2 separate regions of the Homo sapiens genome follow, and region 1 is linked to region 2. The links are contacts of gene promoters, found by promoter capture Hi-C in blood cells and fetal thymus (Javierre and others, 2016). All regions are on one chromosome and are shown on one strand. The core of a region is centred on a gene start or on the middle of the fragment in contact, and the rest is flanking DNA. Distances in the headings are between cores, read along the strand shown.

Region 1 (2,906 bases), core at 64-2,563, 480 kb after region 2:
CTATTAGAGGAGGCATTTTGTTCCTGGGGTTGTTGAATGCTCACAGTGAACAGGTTTGACAGACCTGCTTAACCACGGAAGTTAAGTCAGGCCCAATGAAGAGCCTGTTTATCATGGCAAGAGTGGCATCTCCTCACATATGGAAAGAGTCATGCAGGATTTTTATAATTCTCCATTGGGCTGTTTGAGGGAGATACACTTTTGATACTATATACCACCAGGATCCTTGTTTGTGTCCATCTTCCTCCTTTACTTCGAATATCCCTGAATACATCACAGGGATATTCAGGTTCTATTGGGGAATCATAGAAAGGAAGCAGTGCTAGAATTTGTCGGGATTACACCCTGAGCAGTGCGGCTTTGGCTTATCAGCCTTTCTGTGCCCTTGTGTTACAGGGGTTAGGTTCTTTTGATGCCCCCTACAATGAATTATGGCTATGCTTTTGGCAAGTGTATTGCTTCCAACAGTTGAAGAATTTCAGACCCATGCTTTATGGTGGAAGATTTACTAGTTAGTAGTCCTCTTTCTCTTTCTTTTCAAATTGCAGCATGAGCATGAAACACGAGAAATGCATGTTTGGAATCTGTATAGATGTTAAGCTTTTTCCCTTTTCCTAATGTCAGAACTCGAGTAAGAGCAATGATCTCAGCTTTTTGTGCTGACATACCTGGGGGCAGGGGTTGGACCTCAATAATTGTATTGTAATTTACTGTTGTATATCTGGCCCAGTGTTCCCGTTTGATATAAAGCTGCTGAGGTCTGTGAACCAGTCATCCTCTGAATCTGGGAGAGGTCAACCTTTTAAATCAGGCTGGCTAACATATGTATGTGCAATAACTTGCTCGCAGGAATGATTAATTATTGGGCCTGTGGGCAGCAATCAAGCTGGATTCACAGTGTTACAGGTTTTAAGGGTCACATCTAGATTTTCCAGGAGCATAGCCTGGTATTTGGTTAACCTTTCCCCCATCATACAGTTGTGTCCTTTTATTTCTAGGATTGACTTGATGTGGGGTTAATACTTCCAGTGGCTGACCCAGGGTGATTTTAGCGGCTTCTTCCACTAAAATAGCAGTGTCTGCCATCGACGGCAAGCAGCTTGGCCACCGTGTCCAATTTCTTTGAGAAGTAGGCAGTTGGCACTCCCATGGCTATGCCTTTCCCTTCTGCTACATACAAGGGCTTAGTGAGGTCTAGGATGCTAAGAGCGGGAGGCTGGCTGAGAGCCTGTTTTAACTTGATAAAGCCTTCTCTCATTTCCAAAGTCCATTCAATTGGCTCATTTTCTGGCTCCCTTGTTGCTTTCATAAAGGGGTTTTGCTATGAGCCCAAAATTTGGTACCCATCTTCTGCAAAACCCAGCCATCCCCAGAAAACGACGAAGCTGTTGCTTGGTGTGGGAGGAGCTCCAAACCACATACGGCTTGCACTCATTCTGGGGATATTTGCTGGGCTCTGGGTGTTAAGATACACCTTAAATATTGAACCCGTTGGTGGGCAATCTGAGCCTTCCTTTTGGACACTTTATATCCCATCTGCAGAGAAATTTAAGGTTCTTATAGTATTTTAGTCACCCCCTGGGTTGGGCTACACACAAGAAGGTCATGTACATACTAGAGTACACTCCATTTTCCAATTTTAGATCCCTTAGATCCCCAAGGCTTGTGCAAAAAACAAACAAACATGGTTATCCTGAAAGCCCTGAGGGAGGGGCACTGTCCAAGTGTATTTCTGTTTTAGCCCTACCCAGTTTCCCAGTATACCATGCTAGTGCGTTGACCTATTTATTAATGTGGTCTGGGACATTGTCTGCATTACTATTAGCAATTTTGCTGGGTGGTGCCTAAATCGTAGCAGTGTCCCTATTTTAACTATAATATCCCCTCCCAACAAGGGGACTGGGCAGCTTGTTACTACTAGAAATTCTTGTTGGAAGATTTGTTTCTCAAATTGGCAAGTCAAAAGAGGAATAAAGAATCTTTTTTGTGGCTCTCCTTCCATTCCCATAACGCTTGTGGATGGGGAGGAAGCTTTTCCTACGTAAGTAGTAAGGGCAAAGTAATTTGTCCCTGTATCAAAAAGAAACCAAATTTGGGTGCCCAACATGTCCAGAGTTACCCAGGGCTCCTCAATAGTAATGAATGATGTTCCTGGGCAGGGGTGGTGAGGAAGGCCCTGGGCCCCATCAGTTTTCATCAATTTCTCCTTTTGCACTGTTAAGAGTTTTGACTGACCTCCTCTGTGTAACAGGGGGCAGTTAATTCTCCAGCACCAGGGGTTGTGACTGGTGCCTTTGTACTGCCAACAGGGTCCCAGTGGGGGCTTACTACAGTCCTTTGCCCAATTCCCATTTTTCTTGCATTTGAAGCAAGAGCCTTTGCTGGCATTATCCTTATGGCCCATTGGGATTCCCTTGGGCACTCTTTGGGCATTCAGGGCATCTCCAATGATGGCTATCGTAATTTTGGCTTGCTTCTTCTTTATTCCTTTTCCTTCCTCCAGGTCATGATTGTTATACACCATAAGGCAGTATCAAGAAGTTGATTTTGATTAGTCTGTGGCATCATCTATAGCTTTTGGAGCCTAATGGCTGGAGCGGATTGGCTAATGAAATGCTGTGCCATTAATATTTTGCCTCTGGAGAGGAAGCGTCCAGATTGGTATATTTCCTTTCCCCAGCCTACCATAAAAGATGGCTGGATTTTCCTCCTTGCATTAATATTTTGCCTTCTGGAGAGGAAGTGTCCAGATTGGCATATTTCCTTTCCCCAGCCTACCATAAAACATGGCTGGATTTTCCTCCTTGCCTTGTATAACCTCCCTGATCATAATTTGCTACCTTAAGATATTGTCTTTTTCATTCCTCCAAGGAGAGCCTCAAGAAATTTGGCCCAGTTGTTCATTC
Region 2 (2,795 bases), core at 287-2,786:
AGATTGCTTGAGACCAGGTCAAGGCTTCAGTGATCACATCCCTGCACTCCAGCCTAGGCGACAGAGTAAAGCCTTGTCTCAAAAAAAAAAAAAAAAAAAAAAGAGAAAAGATTAAGGGCAACCATGATAGATCTTTGTTTTACCACATGAGGGTTTTACATGAGATTGCATCTGCTGTGAATTTCTGAGCACGTGGCATTCCTTAAGTAATCTGGCCTTGACACTTAATTTGCTTTATAAACTTAATTCTCCATAAATAACTGAATCATCAATTCTTGATTACATGAGCAATTGAACAAGAATTATTCCAAACAGGAAATAATCTAACAGTTATTCTGATTTGGTCAGGATTCCTGCTGCCATAGATATTTGGTGCCTCTAGTATTTAGGCTCTTCACAATTCCCTCAAATAAGTAGAATTCTCTAATATTGAGTTAACTTCACATCAGAACTCCATAGTGAACTTGGTCCTGCTGCTTCTTCTGGTGGGAACAAGGACCGCCTCCCAGCGAATAGATGCAAAACATCAGCCCAAATTTGCCTGTTCCCCTCAAACCTTCCCTGGGAGCTGGCCAGAAGGTACCAAAGTTTCTTGCTTTCAAAGGCCTTCTCTTCCAGCTCCAACTCCAGGAGCTATACAAGGTGCAGAATCGAAAAGCGTCATCTGTCTTCAGACAGCTTCAGTAAATATATTTCTCCTTAACAACCTTTCACCTAAGCATCTGGAAATTCAATATCATGTTTCAGGAGGTTAAAGAGGAGAAAGTTCAAATACTCAAGCTCCAATATTCACTTACTCTCAGGGAAGATCTTTGCTTGGAATCCTTTGCCAAAGACAAGATTCTCCAGATTATTGAAGGCCTGGTTGAGGGAGTTAAGGAGTAGGGTGTGCAACGGGGACAGAGCTGTGTGGGGAAGGGGAAGGGCACATGCCTACGTGGCCCGCCCCCTCCAACTGCAGGGAGGATACAGTGAGCGAGAACACGAAGAGACCCGAACCAAGCAGGCCGCCCTGGATGGTGAGCCACTCGGTGGAGGCCAGCTGACGGCTGTACATCTGCATCCCAGCAAAGAGCAGCAGGGACAGGAGGGAGGAGAGCGCCAGCGAGGTGCCCGTACCCACCACTGGAGGGGATGGGAGAAGGGACGGAGAGTCAGGCTCCGCCCTCCCTCCGGCAAGCTACGGGCAGATCAGCCGGTCCGGAAGCTCGGTGGGCCGACCCCCTCCAAGAACTCCCGGGACTGCAGCCACACGCCCCAACTCCCCACACCGCGCGGCAACCCCTACGTATTCCCCAGCCCCGGACACCCCGAACCCTCCCGTCCGGTGGAAATGCCCGCTCCCGGTGGAACCCAGGACACGTCAGCTCTGTCGGGAGAGGACGAGGAAAGCTTGTCCACCCAAACCCCGACCCCCTCTAGGACTTCCTGGGGACCCCACCGGTCCTGTTACCCATCATGCCCCGCCCGTGAGTCCAACCGGCGCCTCTGGCCAAGAAAGGCGAGCTGAACCGGGTGCGGTTAGCTATGCGCATGCGTCAGCGCTTACCGCGGACTTGCTACTCCTCGCGTTCTCCTCTTTCTTCCTCTCAGTGCCTGGACGCAGCGCCCTCTTGCGACAGGGAGGAAATAATGCGTCGAGGGGGCATCCTCGGCCACCGCCCTGGTCCTCAGGCTTTCCTCGTACCTGGTGCGTCTGCTGCCACTCTGTACAAGGTGCACTTATCTCTTTAAGTCATTGGGCCCATGCCTGTGGCATCTATCCCATCTCTGTCTTCTTTGCCATTTCTTTCATCTCTAGTGCACGTTCCTCAAACCTCCCTGCCCCATGCCTCAACATCTCCCAACCTAAAATTTAGTGCTCCCAACCAGGAACTCATTTTCCTCCGAAACTAATCCCCCGCTTTATATGAGTAAAATTAGGAGCCAATGAAAAATGAGAATGTAAGAAATGGCTCCCCCGTCAAATACCTTTCCATATTCCCCAACCCCCCGACCGGCTTTCGAGAACCACGTGGGGAGAACTATTTCCCACCCCCTACCCCGACGGGCGCTGTTCGAGGCTGGTCCCGGGAGCATGCGCAGTGACACCTCAACCCCCAGCCCTCCTCACACCCCCACTGGGCTCCTGCATTAAGCCCGGGGTTCGCAGCCGCAGCCGGGATCGGGCACCCAGGGGCGGGCGGGCACGGTAGGGCCATGGCAGAGGGTGAGGATATGCAGACCTTCACTTCCATCATGGACGCACTGGTCCGCATCAGTGTGAGTTAAGGTGGGGTCGAGGGAAGGGGAGGGGGCGTATAGGGTTCTGGGGCAAGCTGGGACCTGGAACAGGTGGGGATCCAGGAAGATGCTGGGATGTAGACAGGGGGCTAGCGATGGCAGAAACGGCTGGGAGGGTCGGGATGCAGGTATGAGAGGGTAATCCCGGGAGCAGCCCGGAGGTGAGTGCCGTGAAGGCGTCGGTGTGCTGGAGCGTGAGGAGGAGCTAGGAGCAGCCCAGACGCAGCGGGTGGGCTGGGGTGGCCTCCAGCAGTGCACCGGGGCTGGGGCTTCAGGGGAAAGGCCCTGTTATGAGAAGAGGGACGTGTGAGCTTGGATATTTTCCAAGAAAACTGAGGACAGGTGGGGGATGATGTAGGAGCCGCCCCACAGTGCAGTTCCCAATTTGGACCCCTCCCCAAGACCCCACCCCACGCACCCCCACTCAGGGCTGCTTCCGAGCCTGCGGTTGTCATGGCAACCCGTGCCTGGCTCTCCCAGGGGCGGTGCCAACCGTGTTCCCCCCCACCACT

Evidence for each region. The method cuts DNA at HindIII sites, captures the fragments that hold promoters and counts their contacts. A CHiCAGO score of 5 or more calls a contact.
Region 1: a fragment that was not itself captured here is called in contact with the fragment with the promoter of KRTCAP2 in region 2 in 1 of 17 cell types (endothelial precursors); the score reaches 5.3 in endothelial precursors.

What each region holds. Positions count from the first base shown.
Region 1 is chr1:155,654,268-155,657,173 of GRCh38, forward strand. No RefSeq gene overlaps it. Among named protein-coding and RNA genes, the nearest start is that of YY1AP1, 33 kb to the right of the region's middle. The HindIII fragment of the contact is 1,431 bases long and covers 599-2,029 here.
Region 2 is chr1:155,171,768-155,174,562 of GRCh38, forward strand. It overlaps KRTCAP2 (keratinocyte associated protein 2), which reads right to left and starts at 1,537. Exons shown (of 5, transcript NM_173852.4): 1 at 1,454-1,537; 2 at 971-1,125; 3 at 798-861. The coding sequence starts at 1,457. TRIM46 (tripartite motif containing 46) reads left to right here and starts at 2,082. Exons shown (of 10, transcript NM_025058.5): 1 at 2,082-2,262. The coding sequence starts at 2,200. RefSeq lists enhancers at 917-1,196, 1,300-1,808, 1,387-1,486, 1,687-1,736, 1,809-2,317 and silencers at 2,067-2,156, 2,326-2,620. The HindIII fragment of the contact is 8,946 bases long and covers 1,391-2,795 here.